2 separate regions of the Homo sapiens genome follow, and region 1 is linked to region 2. The links are contacts of gene promoters, found by promoter capture Hi-C in blood cells and fetal thymus (Javierre and others, 2016). All regions are on one chromosome and are shown on one strand. The core of a region is centred on a gene start or on the middle of the fragment in contact, and the rest is flanking DNA. Distances in the headings are between cores, read along the strand shown. Region 1 has its middle 51 kb from the start of NEUROD4. Region 2 holds the start of NEUROD4 (neuronal differentiation 4).

Region 1 (7,211 bases), core at 1,165-3,664, 52 kb before region 2:
CTGTAATACCAGCACTTTGGGAGGCCAGGGTGGGTGGATCACCTGAGGTCAGAAGTTCGAGACCAGCCTGCCCAATACGGCGAAACCCCGACTCTACTAAAAATACCAAAATTAGCCAGGCGTGGTGGCATGCTCCTGTAGTCCCAGCTACTTGGGAGGCTGAGACAGGAGAATTTTTTGAACCCAGGAGGTGGAGGTTGCAGTGAACTGAGATCACGCCACTGCAGTCCAGTCTGGGCGACAGAGCAAGACTCCATCTCAAAAATAAATAAATAAATAAATAAATAAATAAATAAATAAGATTAATGTATTTCATACTTTTATAAGACTACAGAAACAACAGTAAGCATTCTATTAGTGTTGTCTACTAAAACCTTTTGACATCATATTCAATGGTGAAAAGAAGATAAAGGCATACAGATTGGTCAAGAAGAAGTTTAAATTTCCTTATTCAAAATTACATAATTTTGCATATAGAAAATCCTAAGGATCTAGCCCCCTTACCACCCTCAAAAAACTGCTAAAACCGAAAGATAAATCTAAAAAAATCTTGGGATACAAAATTAATATATAAAAATCAATTTATTACTATATACTAACAACAGAAATTGTAAAATTAAATTTATTTTAATATTAAAAGTACCATTTATAATATCAAAATAAAGGTATAAATTTTATCAAGGATGTTTAATATTTCTACATTTAAAACTACAAAATATTGCTACAAAAAAATCTAAGTAAATGAAGATATCCTAAGGATTCCAAATTTTAAAAGAATGTGTTCCTTTGGGTGAAAATAACAACATATTGTAGGAAAATAAATCAGAGATTTTCCTAGTAAACTAGTGCATGCGGACAACTCAAACTACCGCAAGGTGGCAGCACATCCCCATGATAGCACCATCAATACTTGGCCTAGTCAGTGGTGAAAAGTCATGATGGGCTTCTGAGAGGATGTTCCTATTAAATCCTAAGTATTCGATCTACAAAGAACTAGGATCTTTTGATCAATTGAGCCCACATTTTCCTTCAGAGTCCAAAGAGGAAACTGAATTTCTGAAAATGTAGGCGACTTATCAAAGGTCAAAAATAGTTCATGACAGAACCAGGATTAGAACCTGATCTTTTAGTTTCCAGGGCAGCTCCTTCACAGTATTATAAACATTCACTGTGGCCTTTCTCTATCCCAGATCCTCTAGGGACTGTTATTTCTAAGAGAAATGATACGGTGGAATAACAAAATATGTAAACTAAGTAGTGAGCAAAATTTTTGCTTAGGTCCTCCTGATAGAGGCAGGAGGCAGAGAAATTCTAGGCAGACGGGGCGGGTCCCCGGTGAAAACCCACCTTCATGCCAAAGTGGCCTGAGACCTGCAGCCCAAAGTGAGAACTTCCATTCCTCTTTGCCCACTCTCTCCCAATTGGCTCTTTCTGAGTAATGTCTTTTTACCAGTCAAACATGGCCTTTTCCAAAACTACCTATGGCCTGCCCCCACTCCCATCCTGTGCTTATAAAGACCCCAGACTCAGTCAGTAGAGAAGAGAGGCAGCTTGACTTCACTGAGGTGGCTTGACTTCAGGGAATAGCTGGCTGGACTTCGTGAAAGAGCCAGCCGGACTTTGGGGGAAAGACTACCTGCTTGTCCCATCCCCTGTCCAGCTCCCCTGTCCACTGAGAACAATTTCCATCACTTAATAAAATTCTCCGCCTTCACCATCCTTCAAGGCTAACCTCATTCTTCTTGTCCAGCATCCAAGAGCTCAGAACCCACTGAGTGCAGGTACCCAAAAAAGGCTGCCACATTGGCTCTTTGCCCTTGCCAGCAGAGGGCAGCCACCCCACACAATGAGGCAACGGGCCAACCGAGCTGCTAAGACACTGCTGTCTGCAGATGGCAGAGCTATGAGAGCACTGCAAACATGCCCTCTGGGGTTTTGGGGTGGCAGGCACCCCCACCTGGGCACCACTGCAGGCTCCACACTGAGCTTGCTCCTGCTGGTGCCCAAAGCAGCTGGCTGGATCCCACTCACTTACTCACATGCTCTCTCTCACAAAGGGTTGAGTGTGGTGGGCCAAGTAAACAGGGCACCCCTGTCATTAGTCTGACAAAGGGGCTGAGAAAAATCCTGCATCACTCCAGACCTTTTTCTAGTTCCAGCTCTCCCTGACCTAACACTCTCCTTTCAGTATCTTCCCATTTCCTACCCCCTTTCCCACAACAAAATAGGAGATATTCTGATATCAAGAGCCTTATTCGTATTTTGGCTGAACTTCATTTGTTTATTTTGATGATAAAAGGAATGGATATCTCTCACGTTTAAGTAATATTGGGCTATAGAAGTAGATAAACCTTTTACTTGACCTTAAAGTCAGATTCTCATTAAAGCTGAACCCAGTCAGGTAACTAAATATTCTGGTTTTCCTGGGCCTGAGAGGTTTCTCAGTTCTAAAACAGGGAAAGTTCTGAGGTGGGCAACCAGGATGGTTGGTCACCCTAGCTCATTTATGTGAAACTGGGGTTTGTGGTGTGATGTACAACATGATGGACCAGACAAAACAAAATGCATCTGACCATCCCTTTTTGTACCTCTTGCCATCTCTCACTTCACTTCAGCCAACATATATAGGACTACTAAATGTAAGGCTCTGCTATGGTTTGAATGTTTTTGTCTACTCCAAACTCATGTGTTGGAAACTTAATCATCAATGTAACAGTGTTGGGAGGTGGCACCAAATGGGAGGTGTTTAGGTCATGAGGGCTCAGTCCTAATGAATGAATTAATGTTGCAATAAAGGAGCTTTTGGAAGTGGGTTCCCCTTCTGCTCTTCTGCCATGTGAGGAACAGTGTTCCTCCCCTCTGGAGGATGCAGCATTCAAGGCACCATCTTGGAAGCAGACACCAAGCCTGCCAGTGTCTTGACCTTGGACATCCCAGTCTCCAGAACTGTAAGAAATAAATTTCTCTTCTTAATAAGTTTCCCCAGAATACACTATAATGTATTCTGTTACAGCAACAAAAAACTAATCAAGACACACACTGTGCTAGGCCACAGGAATTCAAGGATGAAATATAGTATCCCTACTCTGAGTAGGGTAGCAAATTTTTGCACAAATATGATTCCTGGACAAAATTTTTACTAAATCTGCTTTAGGAAAATTCTCATATCAACCTGGCTTATTTTACAAATACAGTAAATCAAATATGTATATACCCTTTTGTGCCTATTTCTAACAAAACATAGTCATTTTTTTCAAAACTGTAGATAGCTTGTGATAATAGCTAACTTCTGCCAACTCCTTACCAATTTTCTGGAATTCTGCTCTCTGTCTGACTCTAATAACTCTTTGAGGGAAAATCTGTTATTGTCCTCAGGCTTCAAACCAGTAAATTGAGGACTAAATAAGAAAAGTACAATTAATCAAGGACAACATCATACAAATAACAGTGGGAAAAGTAGGTTTCAAGCCCAAATCTGTTGACTCTAAAGCCTATGCCCTCACCCACTCCACTGTACCACTTCTCATCTAGAGGGGATCTTGTTCTGTCAAAAACTTTCTGCATTAATGAAAATGTCTTATATCTGCTCTTTCCAGTATAGAGTAGCCCCTAGCCACACATGACCATTGAACATATGAAATATTGACTTATGTGACTGAGGGACTGAATTTTTAACTTTATTTCATTTTAATTAATTTAAATAGTCACATAGGACTAATGGCTACTGTATTGGACAGCACAGGCCTGGGTTTGTATTATGTCATGTGAATGTAACAGAGTAGATCAATGTAGTGTAACGTAAAAAGAGTGGACATTAGAATCAGACTGTTCAGCCTGCTATTCGTGCCCACACCACTCAACCACCGTGTGAATTAGAGTAACATTTTTTTCTTTAAATCTCTCTGAGACTCAGTTGCCTCATCTATAAAATGAGAATAATTATAATACTACTAGATAGTTGCTGTAAGTTTTAAAGAGATATATACAGTATTTGGCACTAATAATCAATAAACATGTTTCATTTGCCCCTTAAAGATTTAAATGGTTGAGAAGGAAATTGCATGAGCTTTATTTGTCTAATATTTCTTCAAATATTTGACAATCTAAGTCAGAAAATTCTTCTGTATCTCTCTCATTTTGATATAAGTTGGTTTCTTTCATTATATTTTCTCTCTAGAATTGTTGTTGGGATTAAAGTCAGAATGATAAACGTAAAATAGCCCACAGTTATCTCAGTCACCAGCACGTAATTAAGCTCAGTAAGTATTTTTCCTCTCCAGTCCTTCAGCTAGGACTCAGAAAAATTTGTTTTTGAAAAAAAATCCACAAACATCCTGGATGCAGTGGTCAGGGGGAACTTACCGCTACTTCTTCGACGTCAAAGGATAACTGAATTCTCACTTTTGGCTCAGGCATGTGCAAGAAACAGGCACTATACCATCATTTCATGGGTGAGTCTATATTACGATGGTTGAAGACAGTGTAATCTAATGGACGGTGCCAGGAGGGTCATGAGAAGAAGCCAGGCTCTAGTTTTATTTCAATGCTGACCAGTTCTGTGACAAGTCGCTTTCTCATTCAGTACCTCAGATTTCCCAGCTAGGAAGTGGGTAGAATCACCTCAGATCTCCCTCAGAATTCTGTTAGGATGAAGATCCTGAATAATATGAAACTTCTCAGTAGTATAAACTACATTTTCATGTTAACAGTATCTCTTGACCATCTACCATACCACTATGAATTATATAAATAATATTTTAAAAACACTTTTATGAACTGTAAAGCATTAATCATTACGTAAAACAGAAAAAATGTCATCCTCATTTTAATAATTTGGAAATGGATTTTCAACAAATTGATTTGTCCAAGCCATACTCAAGTCCAATATCCTAGACCACACAACCACTAACTTGATCACACTCTTGCAGAGAAAGAGGCTAAAACTTGATCCATGGTGTATTTAAAGAAATTCATAGGCTGGGCCCAGTGGCTCACACCTGTAATCCCAGCACTTTGGGAGGCCAAGGCAGGAGGATCACTTGAAGTCAGGAGTTCAAGACCACCCTGGACAACATAATGAAATCCCATCTCTACTAAAAATACAAAACTTAGCCAGGCATGGTGGTACACGCCTGTAATCTCAGCTACTCAGGAGGCTGAGGCAAGAGAATCACTTGAACCCAGGAGGTGGAGGTTGCAGTGAGCTGAGATCGCACCACTGCACTCCAGCCTGGACGACAAAGAGAGACTCAGTCTAAAAAATTAAAATAAAATAAAATAATTGGTAGGTTTAGCCTCTGGTGAAAGCGGTATGATTGGCGCTTCAGAAGAACTTGCTTGAATGAAAAGTGTTACAAGACGCTGGAATCAGCTGACTGGGGACAGGTCTGGGGAGTGTGGGCTGGATGGCTGGGCCTTGGTGCTGCTCCTCCCTGTTCTCTCTCCCAGTAGCCTGTGCAGAAGGTGATTGAGGAACAGCCTTTCCAAGCTGCAGTTTTCCTTGTCAGCCACTAGGTGGATACCCAGTGTAATCCTGAGGAGCTAATGGAAATGGCTTAGAGGGTTTAGGATTTCCAGAGTTAATGGCCCCATGGGGAGGGACTAGGCCAGGGCTGCAGGCGAGTGAACAGACTCTCAACAGCACGATTAAGCCCTGAGATTTAATCATTTGCTCAGAAGTAGACATGAAAACAAAATCATAGCAGTCCCCCAATCCTGTCCACACCCTGGTCATTCCTGCCACTGCAGGATCCTTCTTTGGACTTTCAGGGTTCAAATCTCAGTCCCCCTTAGCATCCTTCCAGCCCTGGAACACCAGCATTCTAGAAATCATGACCCAGAGCTCAAGTGTCAGGTTAGGGCCTAGCCCTGGGTGTGAGAGGTGTTGACCCCTCTCAGAACCTGTTAAATCAGAAAAGAACTCTGTCTGAAGTTACAAACGGAGGCTGACCAGGAAGAGACAGCAGGGACAAGTAACCTGTGCAGAGGCTTCTGAGGATGGTGAAGAGAGTGAAAAATAAGTCTTTGGCAAGGAAGAAGCTTTTTATTTTGCACTTGTTTCCCTAATCCAAATTGCAAAAGCCAGTCTATAAAATAACCCCTGGTATGTATACCCCCGTTGGGTCTTTTCTTCTACCCAGTAGGAAGGTCTGACACACGCCCCTCCTGGATGCCCCTCAATGACTCCTTCCTCAAACTGTTGCTGCTGCGGAGCCATCTGTCACCCTCCCAGCGTCTGCAGCCCTCTCTGGAAAGCTCAGCTCCCAGCAAGCTGAGGCCCAGGTTCAGGGACGGATGCCACAGTCACAGAGGATCACTGCTAAATGGCGACGGCACGGAGGAAAAAACAGACTCATTTTAAACTTTACAGAAGTAAAGAACACTCTAGATATTTGTTTATAATTCCAATAAATATGTGTGGGACAGATTCCATGAGTAAGACGTTATTTTTAAAGGCTAGCTCCTGACCCCAACAATCATAAAGTATGCCCTTACTGATGGAGCAAGAAAGCACTGTATAATCTGTAACACTTTGCCAATCAATCAATACCTGTTAAAATTGTAAATTTTGAAGATGAAAAGGTACTTAAATTCATTATATATACAGTTATAGATATACATATGTGTGTGTGTGTATATATATAGATATACATATATATATATATATATACATGAGAGATCATATATTTTTCAGGCATGAGGGTCTGATGGGATGAGAATGGGGATGGGAATAAAAGGAGGCTACCCACTTCTCTAAATGAGGGTCTGAACTGCAGCTGGGAATTCAGTAAAAAAAAAAGAAATTTAAGATTAAAAAGTGATAAATAACAGATGAAGTAACAAACTATCATGAAGACTTAAAGGAAGGAGCCAGAACCCATTTAGCTGATTTCAATAAGTCAGGCAAGATTGAAATAGTTCATGGAGGGGAGAAAAGGGGGCTTGAAAAAAATAAGAATCTCAATCAAAGGGATACGTAAGAGCAAAAGCACTGTAACTAAGAAAATCCAAAAGCCAAGTCTGCATTAAATGGGGAAAAAATATGGTCTGGTTTGGCAAGTGTATAAAGTACATTATTAGGAAGTATTTGAATAAGTGATCAGAGTGGTAGATTAAGACTGTTGTGTGGAGGCTTTGAATGCCAGACTATTCTCAATATTACTACTTACTTCAATAAGAAATTAGGAAGGTCTTGTAATTTCTTTTAAAAA
Region 2 (6,463 bases), core at 1,063-3,562:
TGTTGCTTTCAGCCTGTTAAGGAACCATCTCACAGGTGTACTGAAAGAAGCATGGAACCAAGACTGTTTCATCATTCACTCATTAAAGGAGCACAGAAAAATTATTGTAATTATTGTAATTTTTGTACCCTTAGGGCAAAATGAAAATAAGATTGTCTTTGCTACATCATTTAGAAGTTTTCATGAAAAATAAGGAGATAATGCAAGCACAAGTACTTTGTAAAATTGTTATGCCAATGTGAGGGTTGGCAATTGTTTTACAGAAGCTGTTTGAGAAAGTCTGTAGCACTATCTCACAAAGCATCATGATATACCATCTTAAGGTTGCCTCAATTCCTAGGAAAGAAATTAGCTCACAAATTACATAGGAAATAGGCTCGAACATGACAAAAATCAATGAATACTGGCTCAAGGGGCAGAATCTGGCCCTTCCCTACACATACACATAAACACATTCTGGTCTTATAAAGTCCATTTTTAGCCATTTGGTATTTGGATTTTCTTTTATACCTACACAATATAACAGAATTTTCCTCGTTCTATAGGGTCTTTCAGTGAAATTTCAAGTTTGGCCAATTCTCTTTAATTCAAAATATTTCTCATATTTTTAAAAATTTTAAATCTGTTCTAGCAAAGTGTTTGCTTAGGCAATGATTGTTACTACTGAATATTTTTACTACTAGGGCCAAAGTCGTTAAGCATTACTACTATGTGAAGCTATCCTGGAATTCTTTCTACACTTTTACAAATTTTTTATTTATTGTGGAGATATTTCAACTAATTAATAGGTAAGGGGAACTCACATGTGGATTTGTGGTAGTTAGATGGTGTCTTTCCTCTTAAAAGCTGGTGATAATCTCTTTACCTCCTGATCCGATGACTAAATACAACAGAAAGGGGGCTGTCCAGCCCAGTTTCTAGGAAATCTAAGAACTAAATAGACTAAATTCTTTTCCCAGAGTTGCACAGTCTTGGCACTAAAAAGACAGAATCCAAATCAGGATGTTCACAAGTTGTACTGCTTGGAAAAAGCCAGTAGTTTGCTCTATGCTCTTCTTTTCTACTCTACTATTTTCCCCTTTATTAATATATGTGCACATGTATGTACATGCATGCACATACACACACATTTTGTCCAGCAAAGCCATGTAATACTTCAGGTGCCATTGCCTCAGATCTTAATAGTTAACAGAAGTTATTCAGTCCCTTATTTTTCCCTGCATGTTCTTCAGCATTTCACCTCTGCTTCCTCTGTCAAAAAAATGGGGGTGGGTATTTTACATTTAATTAGTATTTTCTGAGTATACTTTTTTTGCGGGCAAATGATGAGTGTGAAGCAGAGAAAGGAAAAATATACTTGGACAATCTTTTTCTTCTAATTTCCCATCTGAAAGAGCTGAGGAAAAGGAAATTTCCCCCACCCTGTGCCAACTATTCAAGCATTTTTAGTAAACAAAATAGTTAATGGTGAGAATCTACCCCGAGGATTTTCCACAATCTTCTCTGATTCCTCATTCTGTTTTCCTTTCCCTGCCTCCCCCTCCGTCCTTGCATAGCCCTAAAATGCTGTGAGCAGAGTGGTGGATTGGGTCAATTCTTCCAACCTACTTGCTGGGCCACCTTGGAAAAGCAGTTAAACTTTTCGACATTTTCACCACTAACAAAATGAAAGAGTGGCTTTGACAGGAATTGGGGGAGATCATCTGTATTCTTCACTTTATTAAAATGATTGTGAGTGTCTATGTGTTTCACTTTGGGTGGCAAGTGCTATAAAATTTAATAAAATTATTTAAAATGTTTATATTTGTCCCTAAGTGTTCCAACTCACTAGCTTCTACATTCCAAGTTTCCTAAATCTCACTTCCTCCTGCCTTACCCAGAAGAGACTTTCCTCACCCCAACTGCTCCTCTAGGTGAGTGGGAACTTCCCACAGAAACTTTAGCCCCCTTACCACCCCAACCACTGGCTCACCTCGGTCACTGGCCGTTCCTGGAGTGAACTCTGTGAATCTGCGTCTTAGAGGACAGTCAGAGAAGCCAAGTCTCCCTGACCATCCAGATGGTAGAAGAGACGCTTTCAGCGATCCATGTCAAACCCGGTTGTTACCTCTTAGAGATTCCACCGGGTCTGGTTTCTCTGCCTGCTCCTTATTCTACTCCTTCCTTGGAGTTCCGTATGCTCCTCAAGGACGCCTTCGGGCTGATCTCTCCGCTGCAGCCAGTTTAGTCGCTCTTCAGTACCTCCTCTCCCTGGTTAGCTCCCCGGAGAGGAGCTTTCAGGACCACAAGCCTCTGGGCAGCTCCTGCTCTCTGGCCGGAGCCTCTGACTTGCTGCAGTTTTGATTGCTCTCCCAGCTGACCAGGGAGGAGTGATGTTGCCCAGAGTCTAACTCCTCCCTTTTCCCCAGCCGAAAGACACGCCCACTTGAAAGGCTCCTCCGGCCAGGTCCAGTTTTGCCGCCCGTTTGTTTGTTTAAATAGAGATGGGGGTTGGTGGAAGGGGAGCAGGGGAGGAGAGTTGCTGAAGTTAAGGAGTAAAGAAAAAGAGGACTGGAAACCTTTGTGATTAAAAAGATAAGAAATGGGAGCGGAGTAGTGTGGACAGAATGGAGAAAGAAAATTGGGGATAGACTTGGAGAGAGAGCTAAAAAGGGCAGATGACGCTGCTGACCCACGTCTGAAAAGAATCAAAAGGTGAGAAAGATGCGTGTCAAGGACACAGCATCAGTGGCTGCTTCCTTACACATGTGGACTGGGGTCTTTGGCTTATAAACTTCAGCGTTCTAAAAGTAGAAGGAAGAAGTATGTCTCTCCCACCTTTTCAGCACGTCAAAGCTACTCTCATTAAAACTTTTAATTTGTGAATTTAGGTGAAGCTATATTTGTTGTGCTATTCTTTCAACTTTCTGATCACTTTAAATTTATAAAAACAAAAAGGAAATTAATAAAATCCTTCATTTTAAGGGCAGTTAGTTCCTTGAGTTACAAACTGAGATCTACTATTGTTTTTCAAAAATACATCATTAAGCATTCACGTAGAAAAAGTCCACCTGAGTAGTAATAAGCTTAGAAGAAGAGAAGGCTCATAATAATTCCTAAAACTCCTTTGGTATTAGGAGGTTGAATTAAATTGCTAGAAGACAGAAAGAAAACTACATCTGGAATAATTTAAGTATATAGATATTCATACTATCTTATTTAAAACTACACCAAGGAAAAATAAATGATTGTGAACTTAAGATACCAAAGATTTTCTAATCATCTTGTGTTTCCAAGAAGGAAAAAGAAAGGTGCTCAGATTAAGCAATTGGCTGAATGATCTTGAATAAGTCAACTTCACTCTGGGCATCAGTTTTCATATCTGTAAAATGAGTTTTTCCATCAGTAGCCTGATAGAGTTACGAATCCAAGTTCAACTTCTTTTAGAAATTGACTTGAAGGATAATTCCTCAGGCGTTTTGGCAAAAGGCAAAACATTTATACAATCTGAAAAGAAACCAGAGTATCCCCAGCTTTTTGAGAATCGCGTGGTCTAACAACATAACTAGCACATGCGTCAAACAGAAATGAAAAACTATTAATATGCCTGTGTGCAAGGAAAACTGTAGAGGGCTGAAACAAAAGATAGTTTCACTGCTCATAAAGTTGAAAAGAGTATCTTAAGTTTGAAAATAGTTATTTTTAATTCTGATATGTGTCATATGACTCTTGTTTTTCACAGAAAACAAGAAAATAAAAATTAACACTTTTTTCAGTTTTCATGGGAAGTTATTTATTTTCAGCAGCTCTTTAATCTCTTACTTATCTTTATTTGTATCCCTATCCAGAAAAATATCTGCTCAGGAAAATAAACTTCATTTTCAGAATAATTAAACAACACATGATGGGAATAGCAGATCTCTAAAAAACAAATCAGAATTCACTCCTCGGCCACAGGAAATTTATCTATGAGGTAATTTATGTCTAGGATAGAGGTGCTTAATCATTGTTCAATGAGCGCTTACTGAATGAATTGATCTCCTGCTTTGTGTCTTCAAAGCCCTGTCCATGGATATTTAGAAGTTGATGGCACTGATGCCTGTGAAATTTTCAGGGGCAGGGAGTAATAGCAGATTAGCAGAAAGGTGAACATATTGAGACAAAGATGAGGGTGGGGATAAAACATTCTGCAGGATTCCTTGCTTTCTCTGACAGATGTAAGGGACTGGACACAATAGGATTAGCCTTCAAAATACATTCGTGTGTGTGTGTGTATGTGAGTGCACACACACACATACACAAGCGTACATGAACGTGCACACCCCTGAAGAATGGGGAGGGAGTTGTGAATGCCAAATTTTCTTTAAGAGCTGCTTTTTGCAGAGGGATGGGTTGAATCTATTTCATCAGGGTCACCCTCGTCACAACTCATTGACAGTTGTACAGTTGGCTGTTCAACTTTGAGAGGGCAGGAAGGGGCAGGAGGGGTGTGTGCTGTCAGCAAAGGAAAAGGGGTGGTGACTGCCCTAGGAAAGGAGAATACAAGGCATTTGCATGCATTCTCCTCCCCCCACATGGTTCCTGGGCCAGAGGGCCAATCCCCAGCCCTTCCTTCTTTCTCTGCTGCTTTTTATAAAGCTCTGAGCTAACCTGTAAGAACCATCTGCTGAGTGGGGAAAAGGAGACCAGTACTCAGTTGCTGGCCCACAGGCCTAACGCCCGGGAGCCATTGAAGCAGAGAGAGGGGAGGCAACAGGCAGATTTATGAGCAGCAATCTGTTCCCCCCCTCCCCCAAGGACCCTTTGCCAGGAGACAGCCTGATAATCCATCAACCCCACTAATGAATTAATTAGTATTCCCAGTAATCCTGACCCCCAAAGGAGACCTGCCTGTGGGCCCCTAAGCGGGGTAGAAACTGCCTTCTTCAGTCAGACACTGAAGACCTGAAACCAATGTCTGACATTAGGCCCCAGGGTGCTAAGCCTCAAGCCACGGATCCTGTTGCTGATGGTCCCCAGATGTCTCTCCTTCTCACCTTCCCATCGGAGATCACTAGCTTCTGCTGAATTAAAATCAAATGCGACCAACAAATGGAGTCCAGGGACATATATCAGGAACTGTAGCGAGCAAGAAGGTGGACTTCCAAGGAAGAAATGATTCGGGCTGCCCATCTTCAGGTTAGACTTGAGCAGAACCTAAAGTTGCTCTCCAAGTTTTAGGCACTGGGGCCTGGGATGGGGTTGGGATGGGGTGAGGGCTGGGGGAGAAGGTAAATAAAACATAGTCCTTGACCTCGAGAAGTTCAGCGTTCCAGTAGGGAAATAATACAGGTTCAAAAATAATTGTGAAACAGGTTAAAACAAAAAGTGATTTGTGACATGAACCTCTCCTGCATAACGACTAGAGAAAAACACAGAGGTGTCAGTTGGGTTTATGAATAGTTTGGAGAATAGCATCAGGGAGATTCAATAACCTTCCCTTACAGTAGCAAAGTGAAGTGCTTCATTCTTTTCAAAAACTCCGTAGTGAAGTGGGGTCGGGGAAAAGCTTAGGACTAAGGAATCCTGGGCTCTAAATCTTAGTCTGCCTCTGTGTGGCTGTGATGAGTTATCTAACCTCTCTGGCCTCACATTCCTCATTAGGCAATGATCAGCTTGGGTTATGATCTCTCAGAATCCTTCCAGCTCTGATACTCAATGATATAACATAGTTAAGTGTCACAATTCTTTTTTGAGGGTGAATAATACTGGCCCATTCAAAGGTATGGAGACAGAGTCCCCAGGTTTGAATAAAGCAATATATTAGGTTAATGGCAAAAGTGGGTCTAGAAACCAGGTAATAAATTTGGGTGTCCTCTTTCCATCTAGATTACTGGTCCCTGTTGAGAAGAACACTTGATTCAACCTTCTCACACCACATTCATTCAAGAGCTATACATATGGGCATTCACAGGGTATACAGAGTGGCTCATTCATTATGTAGTTTTTAGCTACACAAAACTGCCTGAATTTGTTCAGATCTGCTGGGGAAACTTCTCTACCTTTAAAAGCTCTGTACCATCCTCCAGCGTCCATTTCTGCACTTGCCATATCTAATTCCTAAGAGCAAGGTCCTCTAGGATTCAATGGAATCCTTGAATCATAACATTGACATTTATTAACCACGTGACTTCAGACAAGTTATTTATCTCACTGGGCCTCAGTTCTTCTACCTGTAAGCTGGAGGTAATACTGCTTATTCAATGAACTTGCTCTGATAAATATGTATGAAATAATACATGCAAAGTACCTAGTATACAGTCTGGCACTTAGCAAGTGCTCAATAAATGATAGTTATTATTGGTATTTTATCTTAAACATTTAAATCAAATTTGTATGTCTTAGAAATCAAAGAAAAGCTATTATCAGGATCTCCTTAAAAAGGCCCTGTTTTTGTGCTCCTATCTCAATCCAAGTATTCCTTTATTATAATAATGACCACACT

The links. The method cuts DNA at HindIII sites, captures the fragments that hold promoters and counts their contacts. A CHiCAGO score of 5 or more calls a contact.
Region 1: a contact is called between a fragment that was not itself captured here and the fragment with the promoter of NEUROD4 in region 2, in 1 of 17 cell types (neutrophils). The highest score is 5.5, in neutrophils.

Annotation. Positions count from the first base shown.
Region 1 is chr12:55,066,914-55,074,124 of GRCh38, reverse strand. No RefSeq gene overlaps it. Among named protein-coding and RNA genes, the nearest start is that of NEUROD4, 51 kb to the right of the region's middle. RefSeq lists a silencer at 5,386-5,680 and an enhancer at 5,256-5,806. The HindIII fragment of the contact is 7,255 bases long and covers 1-6,041 here.
Region 2 is chr12:55,015,823-55,022,285 of GRCh38, reverse strand. NEUROD4 (neuronal differentiation 4) reads right to left here and starts at 2,312. Exons shown (of 2, transcript NM_021191.3): 1 at 1,973-2,312. The HindIII fragment of the contact is 8,784 bases long and covers 1-3,067 here.